2 separate regions of the Homo sapiens genome follow, and region 1 is linked to region 2. The links are contacts of gene promoters, found by promoter capture Hi-C in blood cells and fetal thymus (Javierre and others, 2016). All regions are on one chromosome and are shown on one strand. The core of a region is centred on a gene start or on the middle of the fragment in contact, and the rest is flanking DNA. Distances in the headings are between cores, read along the strand shown. Region 1 overlaps PCYT1A (phosphate cytidylyltransferase 1A, choline). Region 2 holds the start of LINC01063 (long intergenic non-protein coding RNA 1063).

Region 1 (5,631 bases), core at 3,113-5,612, 380 kb after region 2:
CCTCCTCCTCCCGGGTTCAAGCAATTCTTCTGCCCCAGCCTCCCGAGTAGCTGGGATTACAGGTGTGCACCACCACGCCTGGCTAATTTTTGTATTTTTAGTAGAGACGGGGTTTCACCATGTTGGCCAGGCTGGCCTCGAACTCCTGACCTCGTGATCCACCCACCTCAGCCTCCCAAAGTGCTGGGATTGCAGGCGTGAGCCACCGCGCCGGCCAATGCCGGGAATTTTAACACCTATCCTTTGGCCTTATCTTGGGTATATGTATTGTGGGTTTGGGGTCCTCAACAAAAAAGAGGCTAATTCCAGAGAATCCTTTCCTTTTGAAAAAATGTGTAGATATAGTTCATATTGATCACAACCTTCTGATTCATGATAAGATTTTTGAGTTTGGCTTCCCTTATTTGGGTAATAGGTAGGCTCCTGGAGGCAGGGTAAAATGACAAAGAAAACCAGAGACTATGGATTGTGTAATGGTAGCCAGGTCTAACTTCAAAACGCCAGAAGATAGTTCAGGGTTCACATTCAGATGTGATAGTAGAGGCTATTGAAAGCAAGAACTTTTTACATACTCTCTAATGACACACATTTACAATCAGCTATTCATTTAGATTTGATCTGATGGGTTGCATTATCCAGTTTGTTGCTAATTTGTCTATATATCATTTGTGGTACATAAAATTTGAAAATATGTGTACTGTTTCCAAGTTGATCTTTTGTTTTGTTTTGTTTTTGAGACAGAGTCTCGCTTGTCAACCAGGCTGGAGTGCGGTGGTGTGATCTCAGCTCACTGCAACATTTCCCTTCTGGGTTCAAGCAGTTCTCAAATCTCAGCCTCCCAAGTAGCTGGGATTACAGGAGTGAGCCACCGTGCCGGGCCTGTTTCCAAGTTTTAAAGCTTATAATTAACAAGTCCTGACTGGTATAATTGTTTTTAATTTTAGAATTATAGGATTTTACAAATAAGTCATTTTCAAGATTATCTACTTTATAGTTTCTTCATTAAGTACATAAAGCAATTAAGGTCCATAGTAACCAAGAAGCGAAGGCTTCCCCTACAGTAAAACGGATGATTAGTGGAATAGAATTGCAGCTCAAACCTCACCCGGGAATGGTGCTACTCATTGTAAGCATTAGAATAGAAGGCCTTCAGCAAAATAATTGTATTTTTGGTGGAACAAACAGCCACAAATTAGCCTATAAATTTGCCAGCTTAATTTGAACTCTGGTTTTTCTCTTAGATCTCATTTTGTCTGACTGTTTTATGTTAAATCACCAAGTAGGTAACTGCATTCATGCCAGTGCAGGACAAGGAATAAAGCAATAAAGAATGCACCTGCTCTAGTGAAGTTTCAACACCTCCCTCCTGCTCCCCAGGTTTTTACGAGGGAGGTTGTATAATCTAGGAGAAGATTCTCTACTTAGAGAAAAACAAATATGATTTGAGAGACAAGAAGGTCAGCTCTAGGAATCTTTTGGGAGATGAAAAAAATCAGCAATATGTTTAACTCAGAGAAAGGAAGGAAAAGGGAGAGTGTGAAGGGCAATGGAAATGTTAGGAACAGAATGTTTCGGTGGTAGGTATTTGGGAGAGTAAATCTATCAAAAGAGATCATTAACTGAAACCCAGGTTTCTTCTGCCTAAAGGAGGACATATGGTTACTTAGTCACCAGTGGTGCAGCGTATAATTCATAACCCACATAAACCATATAATTTATCATCCAAATCAGGACGGTTTTGAGCATGAAAGGGAGTTGCTGTTAATAATATACAGAGGTTGAGTGTGGTGGCTCATGCCTATAATCCCAGCACTTTGGGAGGCCAAGGCAGAAGGATTGCTTGAGGCTAGGAATTCAAGGCCAGCCTGGGCAATACAGTGAGATCCCATCTCTACAAAAATTTTAATAATTAGCCAGGTGTGGTGGTGTGCATCTATAGTCCCAGCCACTCAGGAGGCTGAGGTGAGAGGATTGTTTGAGCCCAGGAGGTCTAGACCACGGCAAGTCATGATTGCACCACTGCACTTCAGCCTGGGTGACAGAGACCCTATCTTAAAAAATAAATAAATACATAAATAAAAATTAAAAAAATATATATATAGGCCAGGTACAGTGACTCACACCTGTAATCCCAGCACTTTGGAAAGCTGAGGTGGGTGGATCATAAGGTCAGGAGATCGAGACCATCCTGGCTAACATGGTGAAACCCCGTCTCTACTAAAAATATAAAAAATTAGCCAGGCGTGGTGGCACACACCTGTAATCCCAGCTATTCAGGAGGCTGAGACAGGAGAATCACTTGAGCCTGGGAGGCAGAGGTTGCAGTGAGCCTAGGTCACGTCACTGCACTCTAGCCTGGGCGACAGAGTGAGACTCCGTCTCAAAAAAAAAAAATCTATCTATCTATCTATATAACATATATACATATGTAATATATGCATAATATATAAATGATATTAAATATGTATTATATAGTACATTATATAATAGAAACAGGAAAAATTATATTAAAAGTATATAATTTATATAAATATGATTATATATACTATAACATACATTAAATCAGGGGTGTGTTTATCCTGGCCAATAGCCACTTGGTAAAAGAATGGCTAACGCTAGCTTTCTTCCCAGACTAGTTCAACAGTGACCCCTTCTGGCCGTTTGGTTAATATATCAGCCTGGGTTTGCCAAAGACTTGGGATGGAATGGTGGCCAGTTGAGATGTTGGTAGGCTGGGGAAGCACTGGAGAGAGCAAGAGGCGCATCTGGGATTGGTCTGAGAAAAGGTTCAGTGATCTACTTGGCCTAACATAGGATGATTAGCTGTGCTGCAAGCAGCCACTTGATCAACAGCATTCTGTGCTATTGCCACCATCCAGGCAATGTGTTTCTTGAGCAAAATTTCCCTGCTGTATGCTGTCTAGTAGCAAAGAAACAACAAAGTAGTCTTCATTTGTATATTCTATCCCTTGTGTTTCAGGATCGAATAGTGTGAGATCATAGCCCCTCTGGACTTGTTTAGGGAAAATGGAACTATGTTAGTTACTTCATGGACGTGACTTCTGGGATACTTCAATTTTTTTTTTTTTTGAGACAGAGTCTTGCTCTGTCTCGCAGGCTGGAGTGCAGTGGCGCGATCTCAGCTCACTGCAACCTCTGCCTCCTGGGTTCAAGAGATTCTCCTGCCTCAGCCTCCCGAGTAGCTGGGATTACAGGCGCCCACCACCATACCCAGCTAATTTTTGTATTTTTAGTAGACACAGGGTTTCACCATGTTGGCCAGGCTGGCCTCAACTGCTGACCTCAGGTGATCCACCTGCCTTGGCCTCCCAAAGTGCTGGGATTACAGGCGTGAGCCACTGTGCCCGGCCCAAAAATCTTTTTAATGTATTATTTTTTAATAGGCATAGAGCCAATGCAGTGATTTCTGGGACATAGAAGGGGGATTATATGCTCAAATTTTGTTTTATTTTGCTTTGTCTTATTAAAAATTATCTTTTTAAAAATATTTTTTTCTTCTTTTTTTTTAGTTGACACATGCTGGCAGTAAAAAATAATTTTAATAGAGATAGGGTTTCACTGTGTTGCCCAGGCTGGTCTCAGACTCCTGGGCTCAAGCAGTCCTCCTACCTTGGTCTCCCAAGGTGCTGGAATTACAGGTGTGAGCTACTGTACCCAGCCTGCTTTCTCTCATAGATGAGAAAACTGAGGCATAAGGAAGTTAAGGTTACAGAGGAAGAAAGCTGGTTGGAAAGCTTGGTCAAAGCTTGAGCTATGACCTTTCTGACTCTTAAATCCATTAATTAATTCTTAGTTTTTCATTGGATTGGTATATTTAATTTAAAATTTTTATTTCCTGTATTATAAAATCAATACAACCAGCCTGGGCTGGGCATGGTGGCTCACGCCCGTAATCCCAGAACTTCGGGAGGCCAAGGCGGGCAGATCACTTGAGGTCAGGAAATTGAGACCAGCCTGGCCAACATGGGATACGAATATAAAAATACAAAAATTATCCCGGCTTGGTGGCTTTCGCCTGTAATCCCAGTGACTTGGGAGGCTGAGGCAGGATAGTCACTTGAACCCAGGAGGCAGAGGTTGCAGTGAGCCTAGATCATGTCACCACACTCCAGCCTGGGCAACAGAGCAAGACTCCATCTCAAATAAATAAATAAATAAAAATACAACTAGCTTGGGCAACATGTGAAACCCCATCTGTACAAAAAATACAAAAATCAGCTGAGCGTAGTGGTGTGCGCTGTAGCCAGTGGGGCGTGGCGGTGTGCACTGTAGCCAGTGGGGCGTGGCGGGGTGCGCTGTAGTCTGCGGGGCGTGGCGGGGTGCGCTGTAGTCAGCGGGGCGTGGTGGTGTGCGCTGTAGTCCCAGCTTCTCGGGAGGCTGAGGCGGGAGGATCATTTGAGCCTGGGAGGTGGAGGTTTCAGTGATCTGAGACCATGCCACTGCACTCCAGCCAGGGTGACAGAGCCAGACCCTGTCTCAAAAAATCAAATCAAGTGAAATCAATACATTCCCACAGTTTAATATCCATAAAATACAAAAAGGGCATAAAGTAAAATGTCTCCCTCTCAAGACCTGTCTCACAGCCACCTGGTATCCCTATAACAGGCCACCAATATTACCCATTTCTGTGAATATCTAAGTAAATTGTTTATATATCCTCCCACCTTTTAGTGGGTGTATTATGCTATATTCAATCTTCCGTTGAAATGTAGGTCGTTTCCTGACTGTTGCTATTATAAACAGTACTGCAATGAATAACATCTATATTTACTGTGAGATAATTCCCAGAATTAGAAAAGCTGGGCCACAGCTATAAGCATTTGTCGTTTGTCTTTTGATAGATACGACCTAATTGCCCTTCTTGAAAGTTGCTGATACTCCTTTCAGCAGTGTATGATTTCTTGGTTTAAAATCTACTTATTTATGAGTAAAGCTTTTTGAAAACAAAAATTCATAAACCTCCTGAGAACTACTTTCCTTCTCCTTCATTCATTGCCCTGAAGACAGGAAGGAGATGTATCTGATCCTCAACCTCAGCATGGTGTATCTGATCCTCAGCCTCAGCATAGTGTATCTGGTCCTCAGCCTCAGCATAGTGTATCTGATCCTCAACCTCAGCATGGTGTATCTGGTCCTCAACCTCAGCATGGTGTATCTGGTCCTCAGCCTCAGCATGGTGTATCTGGTCCTCAGCCTCAGCATGGTGTATCTGGTCCTCAGCCTCAGCATGGTGTATGTGATCCTCAGCCTCAGCATGGTGTATCTGGTCCTCAGCCTCAGCATGGTGTATCTGATCCTCAGCCTCAGCATGGTGTATCTGGTCCTCAGCCTCAGCATGGTGTATCTGGTCCTCAGCCTCAGCATGGTGTATCTGGTCCTCAGCCTCAGCATGGTGTATCTGGTCCTCAGCCTCAGCATAGGGTATCTGGTCCTCAACCTCAGCATAGTGTATCTGATCCTCAGCATAGTGTATCTGGTCCTCAGCCTCAGCATGGTGTATCTGGTCCTCAGCCTCAGCATAGTGTATCTGATCCTCAACCTCAGCATGGTGTATCTGATCCTCAGCATAGTGTATCTGGTCCTCAACCTCAGCATAGTGTATCTGATCCT
Region 2 (6,325 bases), core at 164-2,663:
CCCATAACTAACCATGGTCTGGTCCAGGGCCGAAAGGACCTTGGGGAAAATGGGCACGCGGTGCTGGGAGAGTCCTGGGAGCGGGAGAGCACGAAGGGCACAGCCGCTGGGACAGTGCAGCCCAAACTTTCTGGAAGTGTGAACTGGACCCTCCTGGGGTGGGACCTGGCATGGGGTAGGACACTAGGGATCCAACAAGGAAAATAAGGCCATGCCAAGGAGGAGGCTGCAAGGGGATGGCTTTGTGGCTGACTCTGTCCAGCGTTTCCCATGGGGCGTCCCAGCTCATCTTTGCAGTTTTGCCTTCCCCCTGGACAGTGAGTCCTGCCAGGCAGGGTCTCTGGCTTGTTCACATTTGTATATATCCCCAAGAATACTTGGTCTAGCACCTTGTAGGGGCTCAGCACAGGCTAAAGTGTCATTTGCTCTAGAGCTGTTGGAGAGGTTGAGGACTTAGTCATTTGTGGTCATTGATAAGTCCTCTTTCTTTTCTTTCTTTGCTTTTTTCTTTTCTTCTTCTTCTTCTTCTTCTTTTTTTTTTTGACGGAGTTTCGCTCTTGTTGCCCAGGCTGGAGTACAGTGGCACGATCTCGGCTCACGGCAACCTCCGCCTCCTGGGTTCAAGCGATTCTCCTGCCTCAGCCTCCCAAGTATCTGGGATTGCAGGCATGTACCACCACGCCTGGCTAATTTTTGTATTTTTAGTAGAGACAAAGTTTCACCATGTTGTCCAGGGTGGTCCCGAACTCCTGACCTTAGGCGATCCGCCGGCCTCAGCCTCCCAAAGTGCTGGGATTACAGGTGTGAGCCACCGCGCCCGGCCGAGAAGTCCTTTCTCATAATTGGTGAATATAAATCCCGGAGTCCTCACCACAGGCTCCGGGCCCTGCATGATCCGGGCCCCGCTGGATTCGGCCCCTTCTCTGCTCCCTCTGACTTCACGCCCTATCACTCTGCTCCTCACTTCCTCTGCAAAAAGCCTAGCACCCTCCGGCAGCTCCTCCTTGGAGCCGGCTCTGGCTCCAAACAAAAGATACCCAAACAAAGGCAAGAAAGTGGTGAATTCCTAGAACCGGGAGGGCGCGGGCTCGGGGGCCAGCTGCAGGTTCCTGAGACGTGGGAGAGGAGGAGGAGTGAACACAGACCGCAGGCCAGTGAGTGGAGCAAGGTGCAAACTGCCAGAGAGCGGAGGCCCGGCCCGAAGACCCCAGACTCGCCTCCCGCCCACCCGCCCCCACGTGAAAAGGCACCAGATCCTAAGCGCTAACAGCGAAGGGCGGGACCGGCAGAGGGCTCCCTGCGGCGCCTCTCGAGGCGCGAGCGACCGGAAGGAAAGGCGGGAGGCTCAGCAGCGCGGCGGTGGGAGGAGCGCGCCCTTGCTGATTTCATGGAGGCCCGGGGCCGCGGGCGCTGTTCTCCTTCCTGTGCCGAGTGTGGTTTGCTATCAAGCGGTGGCAGTTCAGCCACAATCAGGGGCAGGGGGAGGGAGAGGCCCCCCGAAGAGGCAGAGGCCCTGCCTCGGCCGCCCTGAGCCTGGAAGGTGATTGGCTAGAGCGACTCCCGGCCGGGAGCGGAATGAATGGCGGGGACCGGGGCCTCTGGGTGGTGCGAGGTATGTTGGGAGGTGCGGGTTTTAATCGGCAGTTGGGCAGTTTAGCCACACGGGCCGGGGGCAGGGTGGGGCTGGCAGAGAAGGGAAGCTGGTGAGGCGGAAACAGGGAGGAGTAGGTTTTTCTTTCTTCTCACACCGGCAAACCAGAGGAAGCTTAACCTATCGGAACCAATTACTAGCATGAACCTAGCACTGAGCTCAAAGGCTGAATTTTAGACCTTTCACTGCTCCCATGCACACCCTGCCTGGTCACGGCTTCTCACCGTCTTTACCAAGATCAGTCACACCTGTGAAGCCCTGCTCATTCATCTCGCCAATTCCCTTCTACAGGACCCAGTGCCCAGACGCCACTACCCAATTCCCCCAGCCTTGGAATCTCCTCCTCTCTGCCAGGTCCTCACCACTGTGTTCTTGGCGATTTCACTAAAGATTCACCTCCTCAAAACTGGCCCCAATTAGTCCCACCCTGTTCAACCTACTATCTCCACTTAACGGCAAATGGCACCTGACACCCTCAGAAGTCAGACTCCTGGCAACTACAATTACCCAAAATACGGCAGAAAACTGTCTCGAAGCCCAGGCAACTGATTCTTGGGAGAAGCTGACTCATGCTTGGCCTCTACCTAGAGAAATAATTCATATTTAGAGCTGTGAGAATAGATAGCAAAGAGAGAGTAAGAAAAAAGATGCATAAATATGTACTAACACGTTTTTATAATTGCTTTTGTGTTCTTCCTGACAGCATCATGTTGCCTTTTAATATGGAGCATGTGCCATAGCTCTCCAGGAGAACCCCTCTGTGTCACAGCGAACCTCAGTCACTGACACTCAAAAGAAGGAATTATTTCAACTCAATAATAAACAAATAACCCTATTTTAAAATCAGCAAAGGGTGTTACCACATTTCCACAGAAGGTATACAAATGGCCAGTAATCATGTGAAAAGATGCTTGATATCATTTGTCATCAGGGAAATGCAAATCAAAACTGCAATGAGAGGCCAGGCGCTGTGGCTCACACCTGTAATCCCAGCGCTTTGGGAGGCTGAGGCAGGTGGATCGCTTGAGCCCAGGAGTTCAAACCCAGCCTGACCAACATGGTGAAACCCCGTCTCTACAAAAAAATACAAAAATTAGCCGGGCACAGTGGCCTGTGCCTGTAATCCCAGCTACTCAGGAGGCTGAGGCAGGAGACTCACTTGAACCCAGGAGGCAGAGGTTGCAGTGAGCCGAGATTGTGCCATTGCACTCCAGCCTGGGTGACGGGAGTGAAACCCTGTCTAAAAAAACCCCAAAAACAAAAACTACAATGACATATCACTTTATATGCACTAGGATGCCTAGCATCAAAAGGTCAAATAAAACAAGTATGTGGAGAAACTGCGACCCTCATACACTGCTGGTGGGAATGTAAGATGGTGCAGAAACTTTGGAAAGGAGTCTGGCAGCTCCTCAAAAGGTAAAAGCATGGAGTTATCAGGTGGCTCACAAATTCCATTCCTAGGGACCTAAAAGAAATGAAGACATGCTATACAAACACCTGAAGACATGCTATACTAACACCTGAAGCCATGCTATACTAACACCCGAACATGAATGTTCAGAACAGCATCATTCATGATTACCAAGAAGTGGAAAAAACCCAAATGTCCATCAACTAACTGACGAGTGGATACAGTATATCCATGCAGTGGAATTTCTTTTTCTCTTTCTTTCTTTCTTTTCTTTCTCTTTCTTTCTTTCTTTTTCTTTCCTTCTTTCTTTCTTTCTTCTTTCTTCTTTTTTTTTTTTTTGATGGGATCTCTTTCTGTCACCCAGGCTGGAGTTCAGTGATGCTATCTCAGCTCACTGCAACCTCCTCCTGGGCTCAAGCGATCCTCCCACCTCAGCCTCCCCAGTAGCTGGGACCACAGGTGCCTGCCACCACACCCGACTAATTTTTTGTATTTTTGGTAGAGATGGGGTTTCTGCCCAGGCTGGTCTTGAACTTCTGAGCTCAAGCGATCCACCCGCCTCAGCCTCCCAAAGTGCTGGGAATACTGGCTTGAGCCACTGCGCCCAGCTATGCAGTGGAACATTTCTCAGCCATAGAAGAGAATAAAGTACTGATACATGCTACAACAGGGACAAACTTTGAAAACATTATGCTAAGTGAAAAAAGTCAGTCACAAATGATCACATGTTACATGATTTCATTTACATGAATTGTTCAGAGAAGGCAAATCTGTAGAGAGAGAAAGATTAGTGGTTACCTAGGTCTGGGGGTTTGGGGGAAAATGGGAGTGACTGGTAATGGGTATGGGGTTTCCTTTTGAGGTTATGAAAATGTTCTAAAATTGTGGTGATGGTTTCATGAGTATGTGAACATGCTAAAAGCAATTGCCTTGTACACATTAAATGCGTAAATTATATGGTAGATGAGTTATAGCTCAATAAAGCTGTTCTATAAAAATAAACCACTGGGCACTGTGGCTCACGCCTGTAATCCCAGCACTTTGGGAGGCCGAGGCAGGCAGATCACCTGAGGTCAGGAGTTCGAGACCAGCCTGACCAACATGGTGAAACCCTGTTTCTACTAAAAATACAAAATTAGTTGGGTGTGGTGGTGCATGCTTGTAATCCCAGCTACTCAGGAGGCTGAGACAGGAGAATCACTTGAACCTGGGAGGTGGAGGTTGCAAATGAGCCGAGATCACGCCAGAAAAAAAGAATAGGTTAACATAGACTCAGTATACAAGAAAGGGAAGTGTGGCGGCTCACATCTGTAATCCCCGTGAAGTGGGATTTGTTTAACATTTTTTGAAAATCAGAATAAAAAAGATTAGTGCTTAAACTGATACTCTCTAGTTATTTGGAAAATACATTTATGTAAAACATGTGTTTTCCTATTATAGTCTAAATTAGAACATTGGAGCACCTAGCAACATCTTAAAGCTAGTTAAACAGAATGACATCATATTTTGACCATACTGTTTTGAAATTGTGCAGTTTCTCTTTGTATCTCTAGAGTGATTCATGAATATGTATTTGGCTTCTCAAATTAAAAATATTTCACTGCTATTGAACTATTCCTTTAATATCTGTATAAATGTTTTTAAGTATTATATTTTGAGGATTTTGAAGCTTTAGGTTTCTTATTTAAAATACAATTATCGGCCAGGCATGGTGGCTCACACCTGTAATCCCAGCACTTTGGGAGGCCGAGGCGGGTGAATCACAAGGTCAAGAGATCAAAACCATTCTGGCCAACATGGTGAAACCCCGTCTCTACTAAAAATACAAAAAAAGTTTAGCCAGGCGTGGTCGTGGGCACCTGTAGTCCCAGCTACTCAGGAGGCTGAAGCAGGAGAATGATGTGAACCCAGGAGGCGTAGGTTGCAGTGAGCTGAGATCGCACCACTGCACTCCAGCCTGGCAACAGAGCGAGACTCTGTCTCAAAAAAATACAATAATAAAATAAAATAAAAAATAAAATAAAATATAGAATCATCTGGGCCAGGCACGGTGGCCCATGCCTGTAATCCCAGTACTTTGGGAGGCTGAGGTAGGTGGATCCCTTGAGCTCAAGAGATTGAAACCAGCCTAGGCAACATGGTGAAACCCCATATCTACAAAAATACAAAATGCAAAAGAATTAGCCAGGCATGGTGGCACGCGCCTGTTGTCCCAGCTACTCGGGAGGCTAAGGCGAAAGGATCATTTGCACCCAGAAAGTCGAGGCTGCAGTGAGCCAAGATTGCGCCACTGCACTCAAGCCTGGGTGACAAAGCGAGACCCTGTCTCAAAAACAAAACAAAATTTTAAAATTGCCACAATTATCCTTAATCTTATGTTGGAGATGATTACTAGGGAGATCATTAATATATAAAATATATTCTACTATATTAATAAATTATATAACATATTAGTATAATGTATTAAATATAATTATATTAAGAATAATATAAATATTTTAAAATTATATAATTTATATAAAGTAACTAGATAATGTTAAATATCAGGAAACTGCAGGAAGTTGGTATTCCTTGTTAAGAAGAAAGGTGCACTCATCCCTTTGAGAGCAGAAATGACTCTTCTTCTGTTTGAGGATAAAAGGACGATGTCCCCAGAGCTGGAATCTATAATAGTCAGTATTTGCAGGGGTTGTGTTTGACGGGTGCTCAGCGTCTGAACCTCTTCACGGCTAAGAGGAGCCTTTTCTTGCGTGGCGTTGTTTGGAAACAGAGGCCTATCCCTTGGAAATTAGGATTTGGTTGCATGATCTGGGCTCAACCATCGGAATGTGTGCTAAGAAACCTGGGCATGGAGCAAGTATGTGAGGAAGCTGCCTCGCTCCAGGGGTGGCAGCCGCAGCCTCTGATGTCCCAGGCAGTCACAGTGACACAGCCTTCCAACCAGGCCGCCCCCTGGCATGACCATGGCTGTGGGTGCAGCTGCCCACCTCCCCTGCTGCTGCCATTTGCTCACCTGCGTCTCCAGCCTTCGCACTGACATTTACCCACTATCCTTCCAATAAATTCCTTTCCTGCTCAAGTGAATCAGAATCAGTTTCTGTTGTTTGCAGTTAAAAACTCTGACTCATGGGCCGGGCGCAGTGGCTCACGCCTGTAATGCCAGCACTTTGGGAGGCCGAGGCGGGCGGATCACGAGGTCAATAGATCGAGACCATCCTGGTCAACATGGTGAAACCCTGTCCCTACTAAAAATACAAAAA

What was found. Contacts are between HindIII fragments. The CHiCAGO score rates a contact against its expected background, and 5 or more counts as called.
Region 1: a fragment that was not itself captured here is called in contact with the fragment with the promoter of LINC01063 in region 2 in 3 of 17 cell types (naive CD4 T cells, fetal thymus and naive CD8 T cells); the score reaches 6.5 in naive CD4 T cells.

What each region holds. Positions count from the first base shown.
Region 1 is chr3:196,250,796-196,256,426 of GRCh38, reverse strand. The region is part of intron 3 of PCYT1A (phosphate cytidylyltransferase 1A, choline); the gene reads left to right. Among named protein-coding and RNA genes, the nearest start is that of PCYT1A, 34 kb to the left of the region's middle. The HindIII fragment of the contact is 1,188 bases long and covers 3,769-4,956 here.
Region 2 is chr3:196,627,675-196,633,999 of GRCh38, reverse strand. LINC01063 (long intergenic non-protein coding RNA 1063) reads left to right here and starts at 1,413. Exons shown (of 2, transcript NR_132101.1): 1 at 1,413-1,612; 2 at 2,355-2,496. RefSeq lists a silencer at 1,522-1,601 and an enhancer at 991-1,745. The HindIII fragment of the contact is 3,065 bases long and covers 1-1,767 here.